Regions from separate parts of the Homo sapiens genome. Here regions 2, 3, 4, 5, 6 and 7 are each linked to region 1. The links are contacts of gene promoters, found by promoter capture Hi-C in blood cells and fetal thymus (Javierre and others, 2016). All regions are on one chromosome and are shown on one strand. Each heading gives the region's core, a stretch centred on a gene start or on the middle of the fragment in contact. The rest is flanking DNA. Distances are from core to core; before and after follow the strand shown.

Region 1 (2,641 bases), core at 81-2,580:
CCATGTTGGCCAAGCTGGTCTCGAACTCCTGACCTCAGGTGATCCACCCGCCCCAGCCACCCAAAGTGCTGGGATTACAGGCGCGACCCACCATGCCCGGCCGATTTCCTCATTCATTAATTCACATATCTCGTCTATTAAATGTGTAATACATTGACAATAATCTATTTCACTGCTGCCTTCTAAATTTTCCTTCTGGGCTGGGCGCGGTGGCTCACGCCTGTAATCCCAGCACTTTGGGAGGCCGAGGAGGGCGGATCACGAGGTCAGGAGATCGAGACCACGGCGAAACCCCGTCTCTACTAAAAATACAAAACATTAGCTGGGCGCAGTGGCGGGCGCCTGTAGTCCCAGCTACTCGGGAGGCTGAGGCAGGAGAATGGCGTGAATCCAGAAGGCGGAGCTTGCAGTGAGCCGAGATCGTGCCACTGCACTCCAGCCTGGGCGACAAAGCGAGACTCCGTTTCAAAAAAAAAAAAAATTTTTTTCCTTCTGAGCTCACCTTTATTTCGTACCAAGGGCTTGAGAATTAGATTCGGTTCAAATGGTTTTCAAATTCTAGGTAAAGTACTTCGTCTGCGAACATTAAAATTGTTAAGCAACAATAAAAGGGCCTCTCAGATTGATTTTTTTCACTAACACTAATTTTTCTTAATTTGTTTGTGACGTGCGCTGTATGTAAAAAGTGACGACACTCCTTTCCGTGTGTTTTCAAACACCAAGCAAGTCTGCTGTGCTCCAGGGCGTTTCGCCCTTTGCCAGGTCGCTGTCCCCATTCGCCCCCTCTGAGAGCCTCCATTTCTCAAGGCAATCCCTGTGACACAAACTTTTTACTTTACCAAGATATAAAAGAACCTTGCTTGTTTATTTTAGGCGTCACTCTTCCCCATGATTGTCTCTCACGGTTGAGCGGCGCTGACCTGATGACACCTGCTCACTGCGTTTTCGTTAAACTCAGCATTTTCACGTAGCCAAGACAGGCGATTCCCAGGCTGGATGGGACCTTACTGTAACTGCACGACTCCGCACAAGTCGCTTTGAAAACCAATCTGCAGACGTTTGCTTGTTCTCCAGACAGAAACTCTGACCCCACACTCACCCTTCCCACCCTAATTCTCGCTCGAAGATTGAAGAGCCTGTGAACTGTCTCCCTAACGCTATCCAGGACAGGCCCAAGACGGGAACTGGACCTTGCGCGCCTAGGACTCCGGCGCCGCCACGTCTGTCGGCGTGCGTGACGCCAGCGCGCTTGCGCGCACGGAGACCCGCCCCCTACATCCGGGGCCTGGGCGGCAGCAGGGCCGCCGCGGGGAGGTCACGTGGCTCCTTCCTTTCCGTCTCTGGCCGGCTGGGCGCGGGCGACTGCTGGCGAGGCGCGTGGGACCTTACGCTGGTTCCCCTTCGTCTCCTCTCCCGGCCCGGGCCACTAGAGAGTTCGCTGACGCCGGGTGAGCTGAGCCTGCCGCCAAGATGCCGGCCTATTTTCAGAGGCCGGAAAATGCCCTCAAACGCGCCAACGGTGAGTAGCTGATCGGGGCGCGCCGGGCTGGGGCGGCCCGAGGCCTCCGAGGTCGAGAGCGCGGGCCTGCTTCCCACTGCTCCGCCGCCCGGCCCGCGCGGGGAGAGGAGACCGATGCGGCCTGCCCGCCGCTGTCCCAGCCGGTGGTTGGGCATGGGTTTCCTTCTCACTCTATCGACTGGGGTCTGGGAGGCGCGTAGCCCGGAACCGTCGCCCCAGGGGCCTTTCCTTCCCCCTGCCGCCTCCGGGTGCGTCGCGGGGACCGCAGCCCGGGAGACAGCCCCTACCCGGACTGGAGCTCCCTCCTTGCTGCCTGCGTCCTCTGGCTCTCCAGGTCCCTGGGGCTTTGGTCTGCTTAGGGCCCGCGTCCCCGGCCGCCATCTGGGAGTGCCGGGGAGTAAGAAACATGGCTCCCTCCCGGGGACAATGCACGCGAGAGCCTCGGCTCCACCTCCTGCCCGGGCCGGGAGCCCTACGGACCCACCCCCGGCCTTCCCGCAGCCACCCCCGCTCTCCAAGCCGCGCTCAGTGCTTTGCTGGGTCGGCGTCCACTTACCCTTTACCCAGCTGCTTTATATCCACTTAGGGGCCTCTGACCCATTTAACCTGATTCCTGTTGTTTTGTTTTGTTTTTGTTTTTTCATTTTTCCTGGCATTGATTAGAAGCAGTCCTAAAGCCTGTTTCGAATCACTGGAAGTTGGAATAGAGTTAATGTAAAGGGACTTCAGGTCGCCTCTTAAAGATAACGAAACAGGCCTAGAGAGAGGTTTCCCCAAGGTCACTCCGGGAGTTGTTGAGCCAAGAGACTTAAAACCAACGTCTCTTGACATCCAGATCAGTCCTTTTTTCTCTTTTTTTCTGCCACAGTGCTGCTGTCTGCGATTTCTATTTCTATATGTGTACTTCAGCCATTGGCGCTTGAGGGAAAAACTTGTGTGCCCCGATCTCTCCAAGGCATTTATTACATTGGCGTTCTGGGGATGCACATGTTCTTGGCTAGGCTCTGGGCTTAAGAAACTTTGTGTAGGGTTTTTTTTTTCCCCTCTAACCGGACAATTTTTCTAATCGTTAGGGCATGGATAGCTCTTATTTTCATCCTTCCTTCACCGAAATAGAAGTTT
Region 2 (2,641 bases), core at 105-2,604, 840 kb before region 1:
TGGGAGGCAGAGGTTGCAGTGAGCCGAGATCGTGCCACTGCACTCCAGCCTGGGAGACAAAGCAAGACTCCCTTTCAAAAAAAAAAAAACGGAACCAACATATACATACTTGACTATCAATATCCCCAACACTAGAAACAATTCCTTTTCAAATGAAAATTACTAAGATGCTTTAAAAAGAAAAAAAAAGCACACAGTCACAAATATCACAAATATTTGATCTCCTTGTTATAAAATAATCGCTAATTTTGGTCCCATTATTTCAGTTACAGTAAATCAACAGGACACACCATATTACTTTTGTATTGATCTAGTAGCACCTTGTTATCTGTAAGAAGTGTAAAGCAATCAATGGCAACTCAGCTGAGAAAGTTTCATGGTTCATCCAAAGGCAATTACCTTTTAATTTAAAAAATAAGATCACTCTATAGATTTTTGCTCATTTCAAAACATTCTTATAATGCCATAATTTATATATCTAAGCAACTGCAGTCCATAAACCAGTCTCCTTCTAGAAATTCTTCAAGAACTATAGAATCCTTTTCTACTTTTTTCCCTTTCATTACAGAATAAATTAAGAACATGGTGTAGGGCCTGAACACAAAGCTTCTCATTTCTTGTTTTTTTTGTTTTTTTTTTTATAGGCTTTTGCTTCACTGATGTATACACGGAGACAAGCATTTTTCTGTATGGAGCACGCAGCCTGTATACAGAAACAACACTGACATGCTTGTGTCCTAGTCTCAGTTTGACTATTGTGCTCATCAGAGACAAAAGCCTGGGGATCTACTCACAGGGTTGTTGTGAGGCTCAGGTGAGATGAAAAGCTCTTTGTAAATTGGAATTACAGAACGATTCAACACACAAGAAAAATGACATGAAAGATACCTCTTAACTGCCAAAACTAATAACCTTTCTCAGCACTTAATCAAATACTGCTTGTCTATGTCTAAAATGTCTTTTGAGTTGCTCCCTTCCTCTCCACCTCCTACCTTATACCCCTATCATCTCTCTTTCAGTCACTGTACAATTACAATTACTACTATGTAAGATTGCAGCCGCCTCCACTTCACGCCTTTCCAACTTCATCTGTGCACTGTGACCAAGCAAACTCTCCACAGTCCAAAAGTTAAAATTAAAATTTAGACTACACAGATGATTTGGTGCTAAATCATAACTTGTGATAGAATAAGCAGGTCAGCATTTTGTAATGTTTAAAAACACCATGACTTTCATGGCCATAAGAACATGTTTGAAAACCACTCCCTTACAAGAGAAAATCCAAGCCTCCACACCTGCCACCTGGGCCTTTGGAACCCTCTGCCCTTCCCAGTTTCCAGCTTCCCTGATGCTACAGGAAAACACATGCCAGATTCCAGAAGGCCATCTCCCCTGACCTTACCCCTCCTTCAAGCTCAAGCACCATCACCTTGGAGAAGTCTTCTCTCACCAACCCCATGCTTGTCTCAACAAGCCAGAACTGCCACCTCTCATCTGCCTCAGGACAGCACACACAGCACGCTATTATGGGGCTGGTATGTTGTCATTTGAGCTCAACGTGCTCCCCGCAACTAGACAGCACACTCTTGGTTAATCTCCGGCTCCCAAGAATTGAACACAGTGCCTGACTCAAAAGAGGTAGCTGCTATTCAATAAAATGCTGAGAAGACTCAATTCCTTAAGCTAACCATTAAAAAAAAAATCAGTCCTATGACTTTATAGTCATTTCCCATATAAAGAAATGATGTAGGTTAAGTTCCAAACAGGTAGTAAAATAATAGAACCATAGAAATTCAAAAGATGGAAGGATCATCAAAGAGCATGTTAATAACAATACAAATAAGACGGCCACCCTAAGAGTCATCTAATTTTTCTAATTAGAAAACCTCTGTAAAATTAATTTGATCAATAAATTAAAATTAATAAAACAAGTATATTTTCCAGTTGTTCTAGTTTTAAATGCTTTTTAGCTGTTGCCTTGTTTTGTATTGTTAACAATTTTTGCTGTTTAGTGTTTAAGACTTCAGTGTGTATGTTTTTCCTCATCTCTTTAGATGGTAAGGACTGGGAAGAAAGTGAGCTATTACTTGGTGCTAAGCTTTGCATGCATTATTTCATGCTTACTCCAATCCTGTAAGGAAGGTATTATTCCATTTTAGAAATGAAGAAAACAAAGGATCAGAAAAATTAAGAAAATCACTCATGATCAGAAGGCTGAGGCGGGAGGATAGCTTGAGCCCAGGAGTTTGAGACCAGCAGTGGGAAACACAGCAAGATCCCATCTCAAAATAAACAAATGAATAAAACCAAATACAAATTGCTCATTAATACGCAGTTAATGAGCAGTTGAGCTGAGAATTTATTTGTCAGAACTTAACCACTGTTTGCACCAGGAAAACCTTAAATATCCATTTTAAAACTGAAAGCCCTTCATCCTAGGAACTTAGTCCCAGGAAAACCAGGATGGTCACTTAGCCTAATGTGGACTTAAGCCCAACTCTGACTCCTAAGTCTGGGTTTCCATCAGCTCCATTACTGTGCCCTAGGTAGGGAGCAAACTAGCTTACCTAACCATAGTAGTATTAAAATTTTCTATAATATAAACGAGCTGGTCACACCATGAGTTTTAGTTTTTCTTGAG
Region 3 (2,641 bases), core at 57-2,556, 810 kb before region 1:
TCACACAGCAAGTTACTGGCAGGGCAAGGACTGGAATACAGACAGTCTGTGCTCTTAAACACTATGCTCTGGGCAATGCTACATAATCATCAAAAAGCAATCTCCCTGGACAATAATACAAATATGAAAAAAGAGCTAGGAGTGCACATAGGAGTGGGGGCCTAAGAGAACAAGAAACAGCTTCTTGGAAGAAGTGATGTATTGTCTTGAAAGATGAGGAATGGGTGGGGGGTTAAACCTGTAATCCCAGCACTTTGGGAGGCCAGGGCAGGCGGATCACTTGAGGTCAGGAGATTGAGACCATCCTGGCCAACATGGTGGAACCCTGTCTCTACTACAAATACAAAAATTAGCCAGGCATGGTGGCAGACGCCTGTAGTCCCAGCTACTCGGGAGGCTGAGGCAGGAGAATCACTTGAACCTGGAAGGTGGAGGCTGCAGTGAGCCGAGATCGCGCCACTGCATTCCAGCCTGGGCGACAGAGCAAGACTCCGTCTCAAAAAAAAAAAAAAAAAAAAAAAGATAAGGAATGCATTGTATATGTCTACTTCACAAATATTACAGGCTTCTAGAAGAGGGGCACAGTCCATCTTATAAGATATCTTACTGTAACCTAGAAGATATTGTACTGTATCACAACAATCTCCTAGTAGGAGACAGTGTACCGTATCCTAGGAGAGGGGCACAGTCCATCCTAGGAGGTATCTTACCGTATCCTAGGAGTCTCCTAGTGGGAGACAGACTACTGTACCCTAGGAGAGGGCCACTGTTTAATTTATTTGCATTTCCTGCCAGCACCTGGCGTACCAACAACGGGTATTCAGCAAAGATTTGCGGAATGCCAGGGTACGAATGAATGTCCAGCACTCTGGACAACTCGGAACAGGGGGTTTCCGTGAAGAGCAAGTCTCATCACCTGCCACCTCCAAGATCCCAAAGCCCCCGACCCACTCAAACCTGGCCAGTAATGATCCTGGCAAGCTATCCAGAGGGTAGCTCGAGGCAGAAGGAAAAACTCCCGTCTGACCTTTGTCATTGCACGTCCCCCGCCCGCCTCCCACCACACACGGGGCCGCCCTCCCCTTATTACCTCCCGGTAAGAGCAGGGAGGCCGGAGAAGCGGAGGCCTGGGTGACTGGGATGAAGGGCACATTGAAGCTGAACTCCGTGGCCGAGGAGGAGAAAAGTAAGTTAGTGCCCGATGAGGAAGTGGAGGCGCCGCCGCTGCCACCGTTAGGTTTTCTCTCGGCCATGGCTGCGGCCCACCGTCCGATACACGTCTCCGGGTACCCGGTACCACACCACTGACCGGAAACCGATCACGCTCCTGGCCAGCGCACTTCCGCACTTGCGCACAGGAGCCGAAATTACGGGTAGCTAGTCAGCCGCCCTCTCCCTTCCCCTACACGGCGACGCCAGATATCAACATGGCGACACTGTCTTCACGCCCGCGTCTAGCACGTGACACCCTCGGAGGCGGAGGCCGGGCGGGAGGATGGGGACGTGGTCCCCGCAGGTTCTGGATAGACGTGCGAATTGAGACGCAATTGACCCTGAAAGTCACAGGTTGTGGCGGGTATCTATGGGCTTCCTAAAGGTACCGTCAGGATGGCTCTCCTGACAAAGATTTTGGAGGAACAGCGGAATCCTGCTGGACGCTACCGGAAGGAGGAAGGGAGGAAGAGCGTTGTGCGGGAATGGGAATTCGCATGCTAGGCGGAACCAAACACCCTCTCCAAAACCCACTTGTCTTTCTGGATGGAACCGAACATTGTGGTTGACCCAGAAATAGAAGTGGTAAAACATTTTTTAAGTGTTTAATCCATAGGGAGAAAAAAATATTTCGTTTTATTTTTGTTGTTTTTTGTTTTGCATTTGTTTTTTGTTTTTTTGGTTGGTTTTGTTTTTTGTTTTGAGACAAGTCTGCTGTGTCGCCCAGGCTGGAGTGCAGCGGTGCAGTCTGGGCTCATTGCAATCTCCGCCTCCCGGGTTCAAGCGATTCTCCTGCCTCAGCCTCCGAGTAGCTGGGACTACAGGCGTCCGCCACCACGCCTGGCTAATTTTTTGTATTTTTAGTAAAGACGAGGTTTCACCGGGTTGGCCAGGATGGTCTCAATCTCCTGACCTCGTGATCTGCCCGCCTTGGCCTCCCAAACTGCTGGGATTATAGGCATGAACCACCACGCCTGGCCAAAAAAAATATTTAAAAGAGAAATCAAACCAGACGCCATGGCGCAGGCCTGCAATCCCAGCACTTTGTGAGGCAGAGCGGGAGGATAGCTTGAGCCCAGAAGGTTGAGACCAACCTGGCCAACATGGTGAAACCCCGTCTCTACTAAAAATACAAAAATTAGCCGGGCTTGGTGGCATAGCACCTATATTGCCAGCTACTCAGGAGGCTGAGGCGGGAATATTGCTTGAGGCCAAATTAACCCTGATCTTGCCACTCACTGTGCAGCGAGACCCTGTCTCCTTAAAAAAAAAAAAAAGAAAAAAAAAGAAACCAGGGCATTGAAATTAGAGATCTGACATTTTAGATAGCTTTCTATATCCACAGTAAGCTGACTTACTTCAATCCAGGAGGTACTGTGGATAACTTGGACATAATTGTCATCTTTCATAGTTAGAGATTTTGAAGGAA
Region 4 (2,641 bases), core at 91-2,590, 780 kb before region 1:
TGCCACCACGCCCGGCTAATTTTTGTATTTTTAGTAGAGACGGGGGTTTGCCATGTTGGCCAGGCTGGTCTTGAACTCCTGACAGGTGATCCGCCCGCCTCGGCCTCCCAAAGTGCTGGGATTACAGGCGTGAGCCACCCCGCCTGGCCCTCGCTGCATTTTAATAAAGATACAAAAGCTAATTCAAATGGAAAAAGGATATTCTTTTCATCAAAGACATGAACAATTTAACATTTACATGGAAAAATAAAATCCTCAACCTTTACCTCATATTTTATATAAAATTAACTCAAAATGGATCATACATCTGAGTATAAAACCTGAAACTATAAAACTTTTAGAAGAAAACAGATCTTTGTGACCTGGGGTTTGGCAATGAGTTCTTAAGACATGACACCGAAGGCACAGTGCGTAAAACAAAAATTTGATAAATTGGGCTTCATCAAAATTAAAAACCTTTGTTCTGTAAAAAAAAATTCTATTAGGAGCATGAAAAGACAAGCTATACACTGGGAGAATATATTTGAAAATCCGGTATCAGAAAAAGAACTTGAATCCAGAATATATAAGAAAACACAGCAGTAATTTAAAAACTCAATTTTAAAAGGGGCAAAAGATTTAAGTAGGCTTAAATAGACATTTCACCAGATAGGATACAAGGATGGCAAATATCCCCCTGAGAAGAGTTCAGCATTGTTAGCCATTAGGGAAATGCAAATTTAAGCCATGATATTGCATATTAGAACAGCTAAAATTTAAAAATACATAGTGATAGTACTAAGTACTGGCAAGGATGGGAACAGCTGGATCTCTTAGCAAAATGGTGCAGCCACTCTGGAAGACAGGTAGAATCTTAATCATACATTTACCATGTACTCAACTGTGTCATATCTAGATACTCATTCTAGAGAAATGAAAGCTCATGTTCACATGAAAACCTGCAGACACGTGTTTTATAGTTTTGTTTATAGTTGTCAAACCTGAAGACAATCTAAATGTCCTTCAGCAAGCAAATACATAAACAAATTGGTTGTTATTCAGAGGAATAATAGGAATAAAAAGAAATGAAGTATTGATATACAAATGTGTTGGGGAGTCCTATAACCACCCATATGCTTGAAGATTTACTAGGACTTATATGATTCACTGTATAGTTGTACTCCTCCTAAGATTTATTGCAGCAATATGGTAAGGATACATAGTTGGATCCTAAGGACACACATGGAGTCTGGAGGAATCCAGTGTCTTGATAATTTTTTCTTTTTGCGTGGTGGAGGAGGTGGTGTGGGGGGGGACGAAGATTCACTCTAGTCGCCCAGGCTGGAGTGCAATGGGGCAATCTTGGCCCACTGCAACCTCCACCTCCCAGGTTCAAGCGATTCTCCTGCCTCAGCCTCCCAAGTAGCTGGGATTACAGGCGCACACCATCACGCCTAGCTAATTTTTGTATTTTTAGTAGAAAAGGGGTTTCATCATATTGACCAGACTTGTCTCGAACTCCTGACCTCAGGTGATCCGCCTGCCTTGGCCTCCCAAAGTGCTGGAATTACAGGTGTGAGCCACCGCACCCAGCCAAGAGGATTTTTTCATTTTAAGTGCAGAGGCAGGAGGATCGATCACTTGAGCCCAGGAGTTCCAGACCAACCTGGACAACATAGGGAGACCTCCATCTCTACAAAAAGATTTAAAAATTAGCCAGGCGTGGTGGCCCGTGCCTGTGGTCCCAGCTACGCAGGAGACTGAGGCCAGAGGATCACTTGAGCCCAGGAAATTAAGGTTGCAGTGAGCCAGGATCACACCACTGTACTCCATCCTGGGTGACAAAGCAACACAACACCCTGCCTGAAAAAAGAAAATTGCATTTATATACATTCAAGTAACTTAGAAATAACTTGCTGCTCCCCAGTCACTGCTTGATGTAGCTTTACTATTTGTTATGTGGTATTCTCACGTCTTTTACACAATTGCAGGCAGAATAGTTGGTGTGGCAGTCGTGGCTGTGTAATAGTCTTTTCTTTAAACATCCATTTTGAATACAAGCGAAAATACCCACTTATCTTTTACCCAATTCACTGTATCTAGTAGAGCAGCGATTCTTAAACTTCAATGTGCATTATAGTCAGTCACATAGAGGGCTTTTTAAAATATGAATTGCTAGGCCCCACCCCTAAGAGTTTCTGATTCTGTGGTTCGGGGTTGGGCTGAATAATTTGCATTTCTAACAAGTACTCAGATGATGCTAATGATGCTGGTCAGGGAACCAACTTTGAGGACTAGTTTGTTAGTGGATTTAACGCCTACACATTAGTATCACCTGAGGAGTCCCCCATCCCTACTTCTTTTTCACAACTGGCCCTTGTCCAGTTAAGTAAACGTGTTTGGAAGTCCTGCTCAAACATGGTGTTAGGATTTTATGGTCCTTTTCAACAGATGCAGCTCCATAACAAGTGTAGACTTTTTATTTTTTACTCCAAATCTTCATAACACTTGTGTGATGAATATAAACAGCAGGATTGGCCAGCTGTGTGGTTTGGTGGTTTTAGTTCACATAAATCTGTATTCCGTCAATAGCTCACTTTTTGGTCTTGGCCAGTTCCCATAAGTGCCTGCTGTAGATGGCTTGTTAATTGTAAGGAGTAAA
Region 5 (2,641 bases), core at 86-2,585, 760 kb before region 1:
AACCTTTTAGGCACCAAGGACCCATTTCATGGAAGACCATTTTTCCATGGACCGGAGTGGGGATGGTTTCAGTATGAAACCGTTCCACCTCAGAACATCAGGCATTAGTTAGATTCTCATAGGGAACACACAGATGTGCAGTTCACAATAGGGTTCGCGCTCCTGTGAGAGTCTGATGCCACTGCTGATCTGACAGGAGGCGGAACTCAGGCGGTAATGCCCACTCATCCACCCCTCACCTCCTATGTTGTGGCCCGGTTCCTAACAGGCCATGAACCAGTACTGGTCCACGGCCTGGGCGTTGGGGACCCCTGAGATAAAGGACCTGGCTGATGAGTAAAATGAGCTGTTTTATCCCTTTTGCATTCTGAACGCTCTGTTTATACATCCCAAGGCGCCCACGTCATGTGCACGTTTAACGTGGACATTGACACTAGCACCGCATCCCTTGACTCCACTGTATTTCTTTGTTTCTCATTTTAAAACTAGTGTGGGCCTTTGACAAGTTCCAAGAACATAAGGAGGAAAATGCACATCATCTGTAATTTCACCACTTAGAACCTCCGTTAACCTTTAGGTACATGTTCATTGGTTTTTGTTTACATATGTATACATCCTTGCATAGGTCTTAGTTACACTCTAAGCACAGATGCGTGTCTTGTTTTCAGCAGTTGATATATATTAAACATTTTCCCATCATAATGCTTCATGAACTTTGTAGTGGCTGCAAAGTATTTCACTATGCAGTTGTACCATACTGTAACCATTTCCCTAAATGTTAGCTTTTCCTAGCTTTTCTCTATTATAAAGTTGCAGGAAACATCTTTGTGCTGTAAATCTTATCTTTTCTCAAATCAGTCTGTGACAGTAGTACATAATGGTTGAGAGCACAGGCTCTGGAACCAAACTACCCGGATTCATATCCCAGCTCTGTCAGCTTCCATTTAGATGAACATGTTGCTTATTATCATCTCTGTGCCTCGGATTTCTCATCTGTGAAGCAAAGACAACAGCACCTACCGCTGAATGGTTAGGGGTTAAATGAGGAAGCATTTACATACTCAGAACGGTCTTTGGCACGTGACCAGCAGCACTTACGTACAAATATTGGCTATTACTTTTATTGCTGTTATTCTGATAAAATAACTGGTCAGAATATTCTGGTTTATTTTTAATGACAATATTAAGCTAATTTTTCTATTCTTCGCTATTTGATAGAAATCAGGAAGTCACTTCAGCATCTTATTGATTGATTTCTTTCTTTTCTAGATATACAAGAAGAGATGTCCTTCCACTAGGAAAATTTACAGTTAACTTGAGTGGTTGCCCACGGAATAGTACCTTCACAGAACACTTGTATCGAATTATTCAACATCTTGTTCCAGCAGTAAGATGAATATAAATATGTATTATAAACCTAAGCACACTTAAAAAATCCATCTAACTGTCTTTCATTCACTTCAAATATTTAACTTAGAGATTTTAATAGATCTTATTTAAGGGGAAACAAAGCCTGCCAAATTACATAATTTAAAATGTACGTTCCCCTAAACATTTCACTTTTTTTTGTCTTTTTGCCTAAGCACAAATTTCTGTAAGTCTAACAAAACAATTGTAGTAACTCCCTTAAAATTACACTCTCTTGATACCAATTTGTCCAATTTGGTATCCTTTTTGTACACTAAAGTCTTAAATCTAAATAAACTCTAAATTGTAGGAGCATAATTCTTTTAGTTGAGGTAATAAAGTTCTTTATCTCCATTGCCTCAATTTTAATTCCTGTTTGGAAAGTTGAGCTCACTTTATTTGCCAGGGTATCTGGAATGCAGTATTTGCGTGGTGGTAGGATCTTGGGAACAGGGGAATTGCTTCTGATTAGTTGTGTGACTGAAAATACTGATCACTTCTTTGGAAATTGAAGAGGGTGCACTAGATCTTTATTGAACCGAATGTATTCAGTGTCTCAGTGCTAACACTCGTCCAGGCCCTCAAGAAGCAGAAGTGGACTGGAATATACCAGCAGTTCTCAGTCTCCTTAGACTCACTTTACACTCTGAAAAATGTGTTCATACTCAAAGAGCTGTTTTTCACGTTATGATTATATTTATCATTAATTTACCAAACTAGAAGATAAAGTAAATACACCTATTAAAAATAAAAAATTACATATAAATATTTTTATAAAAACAACTTTTCCCAAGCCAAAAATGATTAGTGATAAAGGTGACATTGTTTTACATTCTTGCAAATCTCTTCAATGTCTGGATTAATAGGAGACAATGGATGCTTGTATCTGCTTCTGCCTTCAGTCTATTGTAGTCTCAGGTTTTGGTTGAAGTATATGAAGGAAAGCTGGCCTCACACAGATGGAAAAGTAGATGGTAAAGGAAGGATGGTTTCGATAGCCTTTGCAGATAACTGGGTGGTGGTCTTTGATACTAGACCAAAACTGTCCACATGAGATTTTCTTAAAGATAGTTAAGTGTGGAATCTGAAATCCTATTCGTAAACTTTCCATAGTCTGCTATGGTAAAATTCATTAGTCTCGCACATTGAAAGGATCTTTTATCCATGCATGATTTTGACCTGATTGACCCTGTAAAAGGGTTTAAGCAATTCCCTGGGGGTTCTCGGGACCACA
Region 6 (2,641 bases), core at 97-2,596, 650 kb before region 1:
GACAGAGCAAGACCCTGTCTCAGAAAAAAAAAAAAAAGATAATGAGATAATGCTACATCAGATAGAAATATAACACAAGTGCAGGTGTACCTTTCCTCATATTTCCTCATCCAAATGGACAGAGATTTTCCACTCCAATTAAAATATATTCAAAACAGCCCTAAAAAGAGGCCAGGCGCAGTGGGTCAAGCCTATAATCCCAGTACTTTGGGGGGCCGAGGTGGGCAGATCACCTGAGGTCAGGGGTTTGAGACCAGCCTGGCCGACATGGCGAAACCCTATCTCTAACAAAAAATACAAAAATTAGCTGGGTGAGGTGGCACACACCTGTAGTCCCAGCTACTCAGAAGTCTGAAACAGGAGAATCGCTTGAACCTAGGAGGCAGAGGTTGCAGTGAGCCGAGAACACGCCACCGCACTCCAGCCTGGGCAACAGAGCAAGACTCTGTCCACTGCCCGCCCCGCCCTTTCCCCCTCCCCCAAAAAAACAGGCCTAAAAAGAGCAACAAACATAATACAACATCTTATTTTTAAGGCAATGATATTACTGAGAGAGAACTTAGACTTAACTTTAATTCAGCTCAACTCAAACAAAAACGCCTTCTCTGTCCTAAGTACTCTAAAGCCTAGAGACACCAAGATGAGGAGTAAATACAGCCCTTGCCTTGGGGAACACACTGGGACTTCCCACCGGGGAAGAAGTAGGCAAACTTTTATTATGATGATGCATAAGGGTTAGAATTGAAGTGTCCACTAAGTGTAGAAAATGCCTGGAAACACAATAAAGGTGGCCAATAATTCTGCCCCAAGGATGAGGGGTAGCATCTGAGCTGGGTCTTATGGAATGGACTAGGTAGGAAAAGGGGTTGACAGTAACAAACATTCCAGGCTAAATAAATGAGTATTTTAATCTTAAATATCATCATTACTTATCCTTCTGATGTCTCTAGAAAAAGGAAAACTCTTGTTTCAGGTTGTTCAATAGTCACGAATGTAAAAACCACGATGCCCACAAGCTTTTTTGAGCTTATAATACTGCCCTTTCAAAAAAGAAAAGGACTTAGTAATCTATTCAGCTAAATAACCAGTAGGAAACAATGAAAGATTTTAAATGCTGTCACTACAAACAGCAGCAAAACTTGCCATAAAAGCACAGGGGAAAAGTCCAATAAAATAAAGAGAATTTTAAATGATTCCATATACAGAAAAAGATCTGAAAAGCACTTATTCAATTAAAATGCCATTCTTAAATAGCCATTAGTTAGAAAGGATCTTCAGTCCTGGACAGGATAAACTATAGGAAAATCAAGTGCATGGGATTCTTTATTCCCTGGCTATCCTGAACACCTTAAGATCAAAACTGGCTGTTACTTCTGAAACATGGCCTCTTCCTTCCTCCAGACATTTGGTCTACTTGGTCTGTGGCCCGCTATATTCTAAAAAGTATGCCAATCTCAAGTGCAAAGGCTATAGCTACTTTCCTCCCCCAAAAAAGTTTTAAATTTGCCTTCTGACATGGACTTTGAACAAACAGTAATCCAAACTGCATGGCTTCATCCAAGAATCTAGGCGCAGGTTAGCCTTTATAGTTCAAGAAACTGGGGTGTAGAAAAGTTTGTTGTCAGATGAGTTGGAGACGATCTTAAGTCCCATCCAGTTCTAATAGTCTAAGCTTTTAGAATCCAAGGAGTTGACTCTTTTGACAACCTAGGAATTTTGAAATCTGCTTTACTTCAAGCTGTACTGAAGCCTTACCCAAATTTGGGGGAGTGAAAGGAGGGAAGGGGAGAAAGCCAGACAAATGGTCAAATCAGAGAAGAGAATGACAGAAGACTGGCCAAAATTAGCCTATCCATAATAACTCTATCCCGAGATCATCAAGAACTTTATCTGGGCCAAGGAGTTTATCCTCCATTCTGAAAAGAGGAAATACAACGTAATAGCAAGAAAATATAGACAGAGCCTGAGGAAAAAAATAAGTTATCCTTCACTGCTCTGGCAAAGCAACTAGTAGGCCTTCCTAAGAAAGCAGTGGGGCCTGCCCAAAAGTGTTCTGGAGGTCACAGAACTGCCCTGTGTCAGTGTCTCAACTCTAGGCTGTGACCCCGAACGAGTTACTAATAACCTCTCACTCCTTTCTCCTCACCTGAAAAAGAGGATCCCACACGTGTCCTGTAAGGTTGCTGTGGGGATTGGAAATAATATGTTAAAGGGCCTGTCCTTAAAAACCATCCTATAAGTGATACCACGCTGTGATCTGAAAAGCTCATCTGAACCTTTTATCCTTTTCAATTCATATCATGTAATCCTTCTGTCTAGACTGCACATAAGAATTACAAGTAAGTCTGAAAAGCTCTGGCTCCTTCCTTAAAGAACTCTATCCTCTCGCTTTCCCTAAAGTGGAAGAATCTCTGAGTGATATGAGGAAAGGATTAGCAAGCCAAAAGGGGCAGGTGCCACCCAGCCCCATCTTACAAGAAACTGGACTGTCAGCGCTCTGAGGGCAGGGACTGCTCTGTTTAAACCACGACTGCACACACATTTTCCTAAAGCAAGCTAATTGCAGACTTAAGCCTCTCCGAACAGCTTACATGACACCCAAACATGGACCCACAATACATTTTGTGTCGCACAACATCAA
Region 7 (2,641 bases), core at 51-2,550, 610 kb before region 1:
AACCTTCTGGGAATGCAGTGCAGTAGGTTTCAGTCTCATTTTACCCAGCTCCTATTCAAGGTGAAGTTGCTCTGGTTCACATGCCTCCGGCAGACTGGAGGTACAGATAGATTTCACAGAGCAGCCAGTATAGTCTGGATGAAGGAACAAAGGAAACGACACAGTTCCCTTGTACCGTTCATGCGGAAAAGGTCTTATAGAATTAAGCCTCCAGAAAGAGGGGGCCCACAAAGACCCTCCTTTTCTCTCCATTTCTCCATCTGCGCTCAATACCCCCCTTCCTGCCAACCCCTCTTTCACGCACCCAGACCTGATACCTTTCTCTTTTCCTCCAGATACTTCTCTCCGTAGTTTACCCTGTTACCCTAACCTTGTTGATTTTTTTTTTCTGCTTAGTCCATCATTTTCTCAGAAATGTGTCTTAACATCTCCCACTATGATTGTGGATTTGTCTATTTCTCTTTTTAGTTCTGTCAACTTTGTTATGTATTTTAAAGCTTTGTTCTTTATTAAGTGCTGCATATCATGTATGAAAAATTACAGATATAATTTGAGGCCCTAGATGATAGTAAGATTTATTTTTGCTTCTGGAAGGCAGTTGGGGTCTGGGCAGGCACCCTTAATCCAGTGGTTTTCAACCACAGGTGATTTTCCCCACCAGGGGACATTTGGCAATGTCTGGAGAAAGTTTGGTTGTCAGAATTTGGGGAAGGAGAGGTGCTACTGGCATCCAGTGGTTAAAAGCCAGGAATACTAAACATTGCATAGGATGGTCCACTGATAATGTCAATTTATCAGTGTCAATAGCACTGAGGTTGCGAAAGCTTGCCCTAATCCAATTATCAGAGGCGTTTGAACCAAAGTAACTCCATCTTGAGTAGGGGCTGCGTAAAATAAGGCTGAGACCTGCTGGGCTGCATTCCTAGAAGGTTAGGCAATCTAAGTCATGGGATGAGATAGGAGGTCAGCAGAAGATACAGGTCATAAAGACCTTGCTAATAAACCAGGTTGCAGTAAAGAAGCCGGCTAAAACCCACCAAAGCCAAGATAGTGACAACAGTGACCTCTGGTTGTCATCACTGCCACACTCCACTTGCACCATGACAGTTTACAAATGCCATAACAACATCAGGAAGTTACCCTATATGGTCTCAAAAGGGGAGGCATGAATAATCCACCCTTTGTTTAGCATATCATCAAGAGATAACCATAAAAATGGGCAACCGGCAGCCCTCGGGGCTGCTGTGCCTATGGGGTAGCCATTCTTTTATTCCTTTACTTTCCTGATAAACTTGCTTTCACTTTACTCTATGGACTCACCCTGAATTCCTTCTTGCTCCAGATCCAAGAACCTTCTCTTGTGGTCTGGATCAAGACCCCTTTCCTGTAACACAGTCAAACGGTAAGCCAATGGGAAGCTGGGTTTCAGTCTTTGTGAGAGTTTCTCTATTTTCATTCCTGTTCCTTCCAAAGGGTGAGGCCCTTTGGAAGTTGAAAGCTGGCGGCGACTACTTGAGCTCTTCCTTCCTTAGCATGAGACTGCTGGGAGCTTCTCTGCCTCATGAAATAGGCAAATGCCTCAAAATTCAAAGCTCTGCTAACCCTTCTCTCCAGGACCTTGACCCTCAAATCCTCACCCCCTTGGCGGCTCACCTTCAGATAGGTCTTGTTTGTTTTGCCAGCTTTTCTAGCTGCTCCGGATAGGAGGACTGATCTGCCAATCTGCCTTTAGGGGAAACAGCAAGAGATTGCCTCTCAGTCTTTTCTTGAAGCTTTCAAATGCAGGCTTTAGGCCTATTGTGATGCTAATGGATCTCCTCTGCCCTTACTTTGCCCATTCTGCATGGAGGGGGCAGCTCTAGTCCCCCAAGCATGAAAGAAGTTGGGTACTCCCGGTTCTGATCATTACTGCCACCAGGAAGAGCTACGGGGTGAGAGGGGGGATGGATTTCTCCCTAGTTATGTAAGAAACAAGCAGGTCTCACCCTTCATTTTTCCTTTCTCATACAAGGTGAAATACTGCAGTCTCATACGAGGAAGCATGTTTTTCCTGTTAACATTATTTCGATCCTGGTCCTTAGGGAAAAATAAGCCCGGCATTAAAGTGCGGGGAGCACTCACCTTCCCCCACCCCACAGTCTGGCTTATAGTGCTAGAACACCAACCAAGTGGTGACTGGGCCGGACCACAAATGGATGCGGATGCGGTCAGCTCCCGTTATGAGGATAGAATTCTAATCAGATTGTGGATCCGATTACTTCTGACTCATAAATCTCCCTGACTTTAGAAAACAGGGATATCTTATTTATTGGAGGAATGACAGTGTGAACAGAGGCGTGGCTGCGTTCTCACCAGCTGAGATAAACGCCGACCAGACCAGCACAGACATCCTGTGCTCGTTTCCTTTACTTGGTTTTTCAAATAAAGCCTTTGTGTGTCACTGGTATTGTGAGGAATACGAAATAATGAAAGAAGTGATTCTTCAGGTGAGTCATTCTATTATAAAATGGAGCCCACCGTCAGGAACTGCTCCCTGAGAGAGCAGGACAGGATTTCCCTGCGCGGGGAGTGAAAGCAGAAGGCGCAGTCACGACGCGCCCCCTACTGGTCAGCGAGGAGAAATCCCTCACCTCAGGTTTCA

The links. The method cuts DNA at HindIII sites, captures the fragments that hold promoters and counts their contacts. A CHiCAGO score of 5 or more calls a contact.
Region 2: a fragment that was not itself captured here is called in contact with the fragment with the promoter of EIF3A in region 1 in 1 of 17 cell types (monocytes); the score reaches 5.8 in monocytes.
Region 3: a contact is called between the fragment with the promoter of SEC23IP here and the fragment with the promoter of EIF3A in region 1, in 2 of 17 cell types (fetal thymus and naive B cells). The highest score is 9.0, in fetal thymus.
Region 4: a contact is called between a fragment that was not itself captured here and the fragment with the promoter of EIF3A in region 1, in 11 of 17 cell types (naive CD4 T cells, fetal thymus, non-activated CD4 T cells and 8 more). The highest score is 11.2, in naive CD4 T cells.
Region 5: a contact is called between a fragment that was not itself captured here and the fragment with the promoter of EIF3A in region 1, in 2 of 17 cell types (naive CD8 T cells and non-activated CD4 T cells). The highest score is 7.0, in naive CD8 T cells.
Region 6: a contact is called between a fragment that was not itself captured here and the fragment with the promoter of EIF3A in region 1, in 5 of 17 cell types (fetal thymus, neutrophils, non-activated CD4 T cells and 2 more). The highest score is 7.1, in fetal thymus.
Region 7: a fragment that was not itself captured here is called in contact with the fragment with the promoter of EIF3A in region 1 in 1 of 17 cell types (non-activated CD4 T cells); the score reaches 6.9 in non-activated CD4 T cells.

What each region holds. Positions count from the first base shown.
Region 1 is chr10:119,079,506-119,082,146 of GRCh38, reverse strand. It overlaps EIF3A (eukaryotic translation initiation factor 3 subunit A), which reads left to right and starts at 1,330. Exons shown (of 22, transcript NM_003750.4): 1 at 1,330-1,519. The coding sequence starts at 1,471. RefSeq lists enhancers at 1,116-1,410, 838-1,600 and a silencer at 1,606-1,865. The HindIII fragment of the contact is 5,277 bases long and covers 1-2,641 here.
Region 2 is chr10:119,921,002-119,923,642 of GRCh38, reverse strand. The region is part of intron 12 of SEC23IP (SEC23 interacting protein); the gene reads right to left. Among named protein-coding and RNA genes, the nearest start is that of SEC23IP, 30 kb to the right of the region's middle. RefSeq lists an enhancer at 1,649-1,818. The HindIII fragment of the contact is 1,492 bases long and covers 609-2,100 here.
Region 3 is chr10:119,891,395-119,894,035 of GRCh38, reverse strand. It overlaps SEC23IP (SEC23 interacting protein), which reads right to left and starts at 1,306. Exons shown (of 19, transcript NM_007190.4): 1 at 1,091-1,306. The coding sequence starts at 1,253. RefSeq lists enhancers at 1,058-1,568, 1,569-2,079, 2,080-2,591. The HindIII fragment of the contact is 6,362 bases long and covers 1-2,641 here.
Region 4 is chr10:119,860,958-119,863,598 of GRCh38, reverse strand. All of the region lies in intron 1 of MCMBP (minichromosome maintenance complex binding protein), which reads left to right. Among named protein-coding and RNA genes, the nearest start is that of MCMBP, 11 kb to the left of the region's middle. The HindIII fragment of the contact is 4,934 bases long and covers 1-2,641 here.
Region 5 is chr10:119,839,589-119,842,229 of GRCh38, reverse strand. It overlaps MCMBP (minichromosome maintenance complex binding protein), which reads left to right. Exons shown (of 16, transcript NM_001256378.2): 11 at 1,270-1,387. Among named protein-coding and RNA genes, the nearest start is that of MCMBP, 32 kb to the left of the region's middle. The HindIII fragment of the contact is 3,624 bases long and covers 1-2,641 here.
Region 6 is chr10:119,726,975-119,729,615 of GRCh38, reverse strand. The region is part of intron 1 of INPP5F (inositol polyphosphate-5-phosphatase F); the gene reads right to left. Among named protein-coding and RNA genes, the nearest start is that of INPP5F, 2.2 kb to the right of the region's middle. The HindIII fragment of the contact is 656 bases long and covers 1,019-1,674 here.
Region 7 is chr10:119,686,616-119,689,256 of GRCh38, reverse strand. No RefSeq gene overlaps it. Among named protein-coding and RNA genes, the nearest start is that of BAG3, 37 kb to the right of the region's middle. RefSeq lists enhancers at 748-1,684, 1,685-2,621. The HindIII fragment of the contact is 948 bases long and covers 827-1,774 here.